Linked DNA regions of Homo sapiens: region 1 is linked to region 2. Evidence: promoter capture Hi-C in 16 types of primary human blood cells and fetal thymus (Javierre and others, 2016). All regions are on one chromosome and are shown on one strand. The core of a region is centred on a gene start or on the middle of the fragment in contact, and the rest is flanking DNA. Distances in the headings are between cores, read along the strand shown.

Region 1 (5,355 bases), core at 981-3,480, 150 kb after region 2:
ATTTACACACCCATTAGCAACCATTGAGAGTTCCAGTAATTTCATATTCTCACCAACATTTGGTATTTTTATTTTAGCCAGTCTCATGTGTGTCAGTTTGTGTTTATAATTTGTGAGCTGTATATACTGTTTATTTTGCTGCTTGAAATGTCAGGGACTATATACCACTACAATTACAGGGTTTTATTGAAACGTGTACTACACTGCATAGACAGGAATATACAGACTTTTGCAAAATGCAGCAAACATTTTTAACATTTGTTATTATGTGAAAAAAGTACAAAAGTGTTCAAAGAGATATACATTTCAAGTTGTAGCAGGTTGTGACAAAGTTTCTGAGGGCAAAGCATGTATAAAATTAATAACATGTTAGTATATTTAAAATCATAACAAAAATCTTCTCTCTGGTCATGCTGACCATAACAAATTACTGTGTTGTAGTATACTTATAACAAGGGTTAACAAACTACCACCTCAGGGCCAGGTTCAGTTTGCCTCTCACTTTTGTTTATTCATTTTTGTTGTTGTTGTTATTGTTGTATAAGACAGGCTCTCTCTCTTACTGCCCAGGCTGGAGCACAGTGGCACAGTCTTGGCTCACTGCAACCTCTACCTCCTGGGCTCAAGGGATCCTCTTGCTTCAGCCTCCCGAATAGCTAAGACAGGTGTATGCCAGCACGCCCGGCTAATTTTTGTATTTTTGTAGAGATGAGATTTTGCCATGTTGCCCAGGCTGGTCTCAATCTCCTGGGCTCAAGTGGTTTACTCGCCTCGGCCTCCCAAAGTGCTAGGATTACAGGCATGAGCTACTGCGCCTGGCATGCGCTTGCTTTTATAAATAAAGTTTTGTTAGGACACAGCAGTGCTTGTTTATTTACATATTGTCTATGGCTGCTCTACAAGGGAAGAGTTGAATAACTGCAGCACTGAATGGCTTGCAAAGCCAAAAATTTTTACCTGACCCTTTATAGAAGAAGTTTGCAAGATGGCAATAGTGCATAATCCTATTGCATTTTTGTTTTCTTCTGGAAATTAAGGGTGTTTTTCTTGGGATAAATGAATTAGCCAAAACACAAAACCAGTTGATCAAACAAAACAAAACAAAACAAAACAACCCACCTCTCTTATAACAGCAGTAATTTTCAGAACGTAACAACTGACAATACTTTTGCCATTCATTCCGTGTTCTTTTAAAGTCACCATCTGTGCACTGTTGCCGTAAGTACATTTATAAAAACTTGTCTGTTAAGCCATTATACTAACTACAGCCTCCTTAAGAGGATGTATTTGGTTGACTTGATCAGTTTGGCCACGAATAGTGTTACATGTGTTGCATTGGCAGGCTCTCTACATCAGTTACATTTATGTTTAACTCCTTAGAAATAAAAGGAATATGGCCGGGTGTGGTAGCTTACAGCTGTAATCCCAACACTTTGGGAGGTCAAGGCGTGCGCATCACCTGAGGTCAGTTGAAAACCAGCCTGACCAACGTGGAGAAAACCCGTCTCTACTAAAAATACAAAAATTAGCCAGGCGTGGTGGCACATGCCTGTAATCCCAGCTACTTGGGAGGCTGAGGCAGGAGAATCGCTTGAATCAGGGAGGCGGAGGTTGCGGTGAGCCAAGATTGCTCCATTGTACTCCAGCCTGGGCGACAAGAGCGAAACAAGAAAGAAAAGGAATATATATTGTTGTATAAAGCTTAATTTTGTAAGCACTTGCTTTGACTATTTTGAAAAGCTCTTTGCTTTTTTTCTCTTAGGGGATCATCCATAATGTTGCTGTGTTTTATTTTCAGAACCTTTTCAAATTTAATGTCATTCTGATAGGAACTTACTAAACTCATCATTATTAGAATTTCTGCATCACTTTTGCATGATGTGGCCTCCAGCAAGTCAAATGAATTTATTCCAAGTTCTTCAGCATATTTCCTTAAGGCCAAATATTTTAAGCAAATGATTCACATGGAACTCCTCAATTTATTATCATTCTTGAAGGCATCAAAAATTGAGTGTGAATTTTCAAAATGACCTTCTTTTAAGGGCATTTTGCCCCTTCATTCTCTGATAATTCCATGATTAATGGATATGGGATGGCAAATTGACAAGAACTGGCCCAGTTATAGAGAGTACTTTCAGTTTTTTGTTATTTTTTACGTCCTGTGTACAGTTGAATTTCTAAATCTCGTCTCCTCTCTCTCTCTTTTTTTTAATTGAGACAGGTCTCGCTGTGTCGCCCAGGCTGGAGTGCAGTGCCACGATGTTGGCTCACTATAGCCTCTGCTTCACTGGCTCAAGCGATTCTCATGCCTCAGCCTTCCAAGTAGCTGGGATTACAGGCACCTGCCACCATGCCTGGCTAATTTTTGTATTTGTAGTCAGAGACAGGGTTTCACCATGTTGCCAGGCTGGTCTCAAACTCCTGGCCTCAAGTGACCCACCTGTCTCAGCCTCTGAAAGTGCTGGGATTACAGGCATAAGCTACCATGCCCAGCCCAAATCTCATATCTCTAATAACTGTATCCTTTTTCAGGTTGTCATCTCCGTAATCAGTGTGATATGATTGATGTAACTGGTGTAAAATATTTTGAACGTTTCCATATTCCTCTCCATTCTCAATTTAATTTCCTAACCTTCGTAGTTGTCTTAAACCACAGTTTATCATTCTTAGCATTTTTTAGAGCTTCTGTTGTTGTTTTATAGAATTCCTAAATTCATCTGATTCTCTCTGGATTGTTTCCAGTTTTGGCTGTTAGGAATAAAGCTTCTGTAAACATTTGAGTTTAAGTCTTTTCATGCATTTATATGTTCAGTTCTCTTTGGTAAATACCTAGGAATGGAATCACTGGGTTGTATGGTAATTATGTGTTTACTATTGTAAGAAACCACCAAACTGTTTACAAAGTGTTTGTACCATTTTGCATTGTATAGGAGTTCCAGTTGTTTCTTATCCTTTGCCAACACTTCTTAATTTTAGCATTTTGTAGATATGTAGTGGAATCTCATTGTGGTTTTAATTTGCACTGCCCTGAGGGCTAGTAATGTTGACATCTTTTCAAGTGCTTATTTGCCATGTGTTATATCTTCCTTAATGAAACACCTCAATCATTTACACATTCCCACTTTAAAAAATTAATTGTCTTTCTCATTAATTTGGAGAGTTATATATTCTGGATACAACTCCAACTTTATTATCAGATATGTTTTGTAGGCATTGTGTCCTGGCCTGTGACTTACCTTTTCATATTTTAAACAGTTTTTTGAATAGTAAGATTTTTAAATTTTGATGAAGTGTCCAGCTTGTCGTTTATTTATAATTCATATCTCATAGCGACCCCTCTTCTAACTCTTCAGCTCTCTGTTCAGCATATTCCTCACTAGCACTCTACCCTACAATTCTAGCTACCTTGCCCGCCCCAAAATTTGTGTGCGTGCTCTCTCACTCGCTCTCACTCTCACTCTCGCTCACTTCGCTCGCTCTCTCATTTTCTCACTCTCGCTTGCTCTCCCTCTCTCTCCCACTTTCTCAACTTTTGAAGATACCTCCAACGCGGAGCTCTAATTCAGTCTGGAAGCTGCCACCATGTAATTAGCTGCTGTAGTCATAGATCTCCCTTGGATTTTTTCCTTTTGTTGAAGAGCACCACAGTCCTGAGCTGCCATTAACTGTTAAGACTATGTTAATAACTAGAAGTAACATATGCCACTAAAGCTCTTTGAAAAGCAATTTGGCGACATCCTTGAAGGTATAAATAGTTTACTGTTTAAGAAGGAGCATAGGCTTTAAAGTTAGTTCAGATCCCACAACTATAAAATATTCATGGCCTTCGGAACATGATTACCCAAAAGGCTAGAGAAATTATTGGACAAGAGAAGAACATCACTTGCATTTTTCATCTTAAAACAGAGGTATCATGTTCTTTGGTAGTATACTGATTATGATGTATTCTTACCAAGGGGAATCAACTCTATTGTCTTAGCTATGAAGACACTGCATTGTTAAAGTAGAAGGTCATATTTCTGTGTTCCAGTTCTTTACTGTGTCAGCAAATGAAATTTAACAAGGGGAGAATATTAGAAATAACTGGGTGCTTGGTGTATTTTACAAAGGTTTGTTGACATTATTGACATTTGTTCCGTTTTAGTTAACTCATTATAGAAGAGGAAACAGTTTTTGTCCATTGGAAAAAGCAAAGGATATTTTCCCATAGCCTGTTTGAATCCCTTGGCATTTGGTGGTCTTGTTCATACTGAGTAGATTGCTTTGTGCATTCTTATGCCATTTGCCTCTAGGACAAATCCCAATTAAGTAACTACTCTTTTCCATTTGAAAACTGGCATATGGGCTTCATTCCAAAGCATCAATTAAAGCAGCAGTTTTTCTACTGGGAGCACTTTACCTCCTCCTTTTGCGATTAGTTTGAGTATTTTCCTATAGGAAATCCATTCTTAATAGCACATTTTCCATCTTACAATAGAAGGGTCACCAGCTGCAGTTCTTTGCAGTAAGGATGGAGTATAATATGGAAGTGTATAGAGTGAAATGGGTTGCTTTTCTTCCATCTTTTTTCCCCCTTTACATTTGCTTTTGCTTGAGTGGTTGGTCCCTGAAGAGGCAGTAACTATGGGCATACATATGTGTATGTATGTCCCTGCAACATTTAAAGTGTGTAAATGAGAAGACCTTGCCTAAACCTGAATAAGAGTTTACATGATTAACCTAACTAAACCCTCTCTTTCCTTATGTTTCCACAGGAGTCTCCCCAGGACAGTGCTATCACCCGGGATATTAACCGAACATTCCCAGCCCATGACTACTTTAAGGACACAGGAGGAGATGGACAAGATTCCTTATATAAAATATGCAAGGTATTTCATGTCAAAAAAAAAAAGGACTCAATTCTGAGTGGTGGTTCTACTTTGAAATTACATAAGAAACAACTACAAAGTGTAATTTGTATTTGATGTTCAAGAATTCCAAAAAGAGAAAAGACATTGCAAAGTCAAAGGTGAGAACACAATTTTAGATTCATTAAAGAGTAGAAAATAATAAGAAATAAAATGGTAGGGTTTCCTTTCCCCTTCTAATCAGGATTTTTAGATGACAGTTCCCTGGCTCCACATTTAGACTTTCAAAATTTGTTTTTATGTTAAGAACCTCTGAGCCCTGTGACACTGCAGACTCCTTTTCAGTATTCACTTTATAAGTGATGAACTTGGCACCTACGGTACGGTCTCACAGTGGGAAGTGTCATTGCCCATCCAGGTGTACTTATAGCACTGCAGCATAGTAAATGATGGAAGATTCTGATTTCTCTCAAAAGGTCTGTACCCGAACACTAAAGGAAGTAATAGC
Region 2 (5,800 bases), core at 2,532-5,031:
GAAATATAAAACTCTAGGGATGGTTAAGATTTTTATCAACACATAGTGAATGGAAATTACATTAATGTAAATGAAAAAATACAACACTAATAGCTACACCTTTTTAAATTGCTCATCTAGTAACAGCTAGAATATATATTGCCAATTCAAAATTTAAAATGACATGGATGAACCTCAAAGTCATTATGCTGGGTGAAAAAGCATTTCAAGAGGGAACGTACTATAAGATTCTGTTTATATGACAGTCCAGAAAAGGCAAAATAATAGTGACGGAGAACTGTTGCCAGGATTAGAGCTAGAAGGAGCTGACTACAAAGGGACAGCATAAGAGAGCTATTGGGAGTGAAGGAACTGTTCTGTACCGACTGCAGTAGTGGTGCACAAATCTTTCTGTTAAAATTCACAGAACTATACACCAAGAAGAAATTTCAATTTTACTTCATGTTAAATAAAAAATAAAATAGAGAGGAACTTTTAAAACAGTAGAACAGATATCCCTGGTAAAGGTAGAATTTCTCATTTTTCACAGCTTCATGCCAATGGTATAATTTTACTGGCCACAAAATTATTAAATCCGATTGTATTAAATAAAATCAAGAAACTCGGGCCCAATGAACCATTTCTTAAGTATGTATACTAATAAGGCATGGAAATAAAAGTATTTTAAGGATTATTAACCCTGTATAAAAAAATTCTGCTATTCCCAAGTGAATCTGAATTGTTACTTTATACATTTTAAAATGAAAAGTATCTTGGTGTTTAGTTTGGAATCCAAGAACAGCTGGTAAAAAGTTAAAAAAAAATTTTTTTAGTGCCATCTGTTCTAAAGTGACTAGAAACAGGTAATAGTGTTTTTACCTTTATTTTCTCTTCTTGTTATCCTAATTCATTAAAGTTTTTATATGATTGGATTTTATACTTAAATCAATTACCTAGAGACTCCAAATCGGAATCTGCAAATACTGCTGGATCCTTTGTCACTAGAATCAAGAATATATAAGAGAGGAACACTATTTCTCTAGGGATACTACTGAGACTTATATGTAAGGTATGAGATGAGACAGAATCCCATCAGCTTTACTGTGCCTCCCATAACTTTGGAACTGTTAGAAGTTCAGAAAGAATGATTATGTGTAAGCCGACAAAATATAAGAAACAAAGATTGGGGGGATGAAATATTACAAATGCTGCATCTCTACAGAAAGACTTGCGTAATAGAATAATACAAACTTTATATAACAAGTCTGTGATTATAATTATAGTAGACTTTGCCTTTTGAGATCAGGCCTAGATAGTTTTTCACCACTGCTTCTGCCATGGACAGAGGTTAAGTGCTTTTTGAGAGCAGACTTGTGCTTGAAATCCATATCACAACAGTGGCATTTGTATGGCCGATCCCCACTGTGTATGTTCAAGTGGTCCTGAAGTGTGCTTTTGGCAGTAAATGTCTTCAAGCACACAGTACACTGAAAGGGCCGTATGCCCATGTGTCCTCGGATGTGTCGGTTGAGATTTTTCTTCTGTGTAAATGTTTTTCCGCACTGTAAGCATAAGAATAGTTTATGCATTTTAAGGTGGCGCAGATAGTTTTCAACATGAAGAAAGCCTCGAGGACACCTGGGGCACTGGTGCCTCAGTGAATAACCTTCCTCCAGATTCTGAATCTCACTCACTGTACCATAACTTCCTTCAGTATTCTCACAAAATAAGCCCTGATCTTGATTCCCAGGAACTTCAGCCACTCTGCTCTCAACTGTAGAATTGATCAATGAATGCTGTGTTTCAGAGAAATACATGCTTGCTTTTGAAGAGGTACAAGGCTGTGAAAACTGCCCATTTTCGACACCAGCTGTACTGATGGATTCTACATGAAGGATACAAATTTCATTGTCTTTAAAACCTATGTCTACTGTAGACAGCTCTGGTGACTTCATTTCCTTTCTCTCTGATGTCAGACTCTCTACTGTAGACTGCAAAGCATTGCTTTCCTCTTCTTTAACATGGAAATCTATGTTTACAGGACTATCTTCTGAAATTTCAATTATCTCACAGTCTTTATCAGAATTTTCATCTTCATTCTTAACATCAGGATCAGAAGACTGACACAGGTCAGTGTGTTGGTTGTTGTTTTTCATAGAAAGATCAATTTCCAGATACTTTGACAAAGCTTCTGTGCACTTTTCCACAATGTGAACCATCTGAAGGTAACTGGCAGCAGTCAAGTATTTCAAAAGCTCTTTCCTTTTAACTTCAAGTGCTCCAGTATAGCAAGACAGTAACAATTTTCTGCCAACTTCTGCACTCTGTAAGATGGTGATTCTGACATGTTTTGACTGTGTGAGTAAAAACTGATCTCTCATAAAAGTGGAGCAAGCAGCCAAAATCACCTTGTGCCCCTGGAACTCAGTGTCATTAATGTAAATTGATACATCACAAAATAAATTCTGCTGTCTCAAAAGATTCATTTTCTGCAAGACCACATCTCCTTGCTGTTCAAACTGGAAATGCAGAACATCAGACTCAGCAGCCATGATCACAATCTAAGCAAAATAAAACACAAACATTGATGTAATAAGGATAGGGAATGCTTTCCCATGCTGTAATGGTGAAAACAAACGAAAAACCCCAAACCTGAATTAGGAAGAAGAAGACTCAAAGTCTAATGTAGGTGTTATGAACCTTTATGCCACCATCTCAAAACGAGAACTTTATAATGCACTTCTCTATGATCTCATAGCACATTTTTCATAACTTTGTTACAACATTCATTACAATGAATTGTAGTGAACAGTTTCTAGCTTGTTTCTTTTGCTAAATGTTGTGTGCCTTGTGGTCAAGAACAATCTATCAATTTTGAATATCCAATATAAGCACTGTGACCACCAAAAAGTTGATTTAACATAATATATCCAATTAGCAACTTTAACGTAATCTCCAAACTTCCTACTCCCCACCACTACAACAGGTCCTCCTTCCGGTTCACCTGGACAACTGCAATGTCTTCCAACAGGTCTTCTTTATACCACACTCTTCTGTATGCCAGATTACCCGCCTGAGTGCCACCAGGATTAACAACCCTTATTTTATTTTATTTTTAATTTCCCTTTTCTGCTTTAAATCTTCTATCGTTCTTCTCTACCTCCGGGACAGTCCAGATTTCTTAGGAAAGAATACGAGACCCATCACGATTTGGCTCTAACCCATCTTTATGGCTTTATCACCTTCTATTCTCTTTTTCATACTCGAACCTCGTTCAATACTAAATTTTTCCATCATTACCCAGACAAAAAGACACGAATACACATTTCTTACATTCGCGTTTCCAGTTCCTTTTTTCAGCTAGTGATTAGGCTCCTTTAAGCCCAAATCAAGTAAAACTAATATGACTCCACCTCCCGTTTCAACCAGAGAGAGTCAGCTGCTCTCTGAGCACCGCGAGATGGTGCCTGATGCATCTGTGTTCCTGCACCGAGCTCAGGGGCCCACACAGAGCAGGAGGAGCTCAGGGAACATCTGCTGAACTGAAACCGGATGCCAGGTTCAGCACACAGGTATTCTGGAGGCAACCCTGCGAAGGGCCAAGGCCCTGTCGGCCCAGTGGTTGCAGCACAAGATTAGCCACTCCGGGGCCGAGCCCAGCTGTCCTCCTCCTCCTCCTCCTCTTCCTCAGGCACCCTCCACCTGAGGAATCTACTTTGCACTCACTCACCGACTCAGAAAACTAGAGTCAAGGATTCCGCGGCAGCGTCTGCCCAAGCCGGAAGATGGACTTAGCCTGGAAGAAAACACATCCGGTGCCAACCAGCTTTATTCTTTACTGGGGCCCTCTAGGCGCCCCGGAAGGACATTCTGAGACGGTCTTCCTTCCTCACTTCCCCCCTCTTGGAATGACAGAAAGGCTCCTGAATGCCGGCAAGCCCCATCTCTCTTGTCCCAGTTTCGGCACTCGAGCCGTTTTCCCCCACCATCCCTTTTTTTTTTTAAGACGGAGTTTCGCTCTTGTTGCCCAGGCTGGAGTGCAATGGCGCGATTTCGGCTCACTGCAACCTTCGCCTCCCGGGTTCAAGCGACTCTCGCTCCGCAGCCTCCCAAGTAGCTGAGATTACAGGCGCCCGCCACCACGCCCGGCTCATTTTTGTATTTTTAGTAGAGACGGGGTTTCACCATGTTGGCTAGGCTGGTATCGAACTCCTGACCTCAGGAGATCCGCCCGCCTCGGCCTCCCTAAATGCTGGGATTACCGGGTTGAGCCACCGCGCCCAGCCGAGCCATTTCCTTTTGTGAGTCCTCCTGAACATCCGAATTGGAGACGGGGTTTGAGGTTCGGTTACGGCACGTCTGTCAGAGTAACCAGACCTTTTATGGATTATTCTGGGACGATTCCTCTCCTTATTGGGGCCACCTACAACTTGAAAGGTGGCAGAGCAGAAACTATCATAAAGATCCGTATTCGAGATTGCCTAGATAATGCCCCATCAGGAGATGGCCCCAACCTCTGGATCTAGCTTCACACTTAAATGCGTTCCTCCATCCCAAAACTTTTGGCCCAGCTGTTTCCTCTGACGTGCCCTAGCCTTTTCCCCAGGCTTTTTTTTTTTTTTTTTGAGACGGAGTCTCTCTCTGTCGCCCAGGCTGGAGTGCAGCGGCAGGATCTCGGCTCACTGCAAGCTCCGCCTCCTGGGTTCACGCCATTCTCCTGCCTCAGCCTCCCGAGTAAGCTGGGACTTCAGGTGCCCGCCACTTCGCCTGGCTAATTTTTTTTTTTTTGTATTTTTAGTAGAGACGGGGTTTCACCGTGTTAGCCAGGATGGTCTCGATCTCCTGACCTCGTGATCCGCCCGCCTTGGCCTCCCAAAGTGCTGGGATTACAGGCGTGAGCCACCGAGCCCGGCCTTCCCCAACGTATCTTTAAAGAACCCGTTTATAAATCTCATCATCCTGAAGCCATCCTGAACTGCCCTAAGATAATTGGTTCCCAGTTTGAAACCTGTAATCCCTTTTCCTGCCTTCATTATTGCACTTAACACGCCTGTATTAATTTGTGCCTCATCTAGGCAGAGTTATTTAGGACAGTGGCTTACTGATCTTTGTATTCTCGAAGTCTAGCACTTGGTAGGCATCAAGTATTTGTGCTGAATGAAGATATGACTGAAGAAATTCTTTTTCTTTTTTTTTTGAGACAGAGTCTCACTCTGTGGTCCAGGCTGGAGTGCAGTGGCACGATCTCGGCCTACCGCAACCTCCGCCTAGCAGGTTCAAGCAATTCTCCTGCCTCAGCCTCCCGAGTAGCTGGGATTACAGGTGCCTGCCACCACACCCAGCTACTTTTTGTATTTTTGGTAGAGACGGGGTTTCACCATGTTGGCCAGGCCGGTCTCGAACTCCTGACCTCAGGTGATCCACCCGCCTTGGCCTCCCAAAGTGCTGGGATTACAGGCATGAGCCGCCGCGCCCGGCCTCTGCACCAATTCTATTCCTTTTTTTTTTTTTTTTTTTTTTTTTTTGAGACAAAGTCTCGCTCTGTCGCCCAGACTGGAGTGCAGTGGTGCGATCTTGGCTCACTGCAAGCTCCGCCTCTCGGGTTCACGCCATTCTCCTGCCTCAGCCTCCCGAGTAGCTGGGACTAATGCCCTGCCACCAGGCCCGGCTAATTTTTTGTATTTTTAGTAGAGACGGGGTTTCACCGTGTTAGCCAGGATGGTCTCGATCTCCTGACCTTGTGATCCACCCGCCTCGGCCTCCCAAAGTGCTGGGATTACAGGCGTGAGCCACCGCGCCCGGCCGCCTCTGAACCAATTCT

What was found. Contacts are between HindIII fragments. The CHiCAGO score rates a contact against its expected background, and 5 or more counts as called.
Region 1: a fragment that was not itself captured here is called in contact with the fragment with the promoter of ZBTB6 in region 2 in 1 of 17 cell types (megakaryocytes); the score reaches 6.9 in megakaryocytes.

Annotation. Positions count from the first base shown.
Region 1 is chr9:123,060,594-123,065,948 of GRCh38, forward strand. RABGAP1 (RAB GTPase activating protein 1) reads left to right here. Exons shown (of 26, transcript NM_012197.4): 14 at 4,755-4,868. It also overlaps the pseudogene LOC100422501. Among named protein-coding and RNA genes, the nearest start is that of GPR21, 30 kb to the left of the region's middle. The HindIII fragment of the contact is 1,062 bases long and covers 1,700-2,761 here.
Region 2 is chr9:122,909,542-122,915,341 of GRCh38, forward strand. It overlaps ZBTB6 (zinc finger and BTB domain containing 6), which reads right to left and starts at 3,782. Exons shown (of 2, transcript NM_006626.6): 1 at 3,710-3,782; 2 at 1-2,540. The coding sequence starts at 2,531. The coding sequence ends at 1,257. RefSeq lists enhancers at 3,497-3,606, 3,617-3,846, 5,315-5,800. The HindIII fragment of the contact is 12,849 bases long and covers 2,166-5,800 here.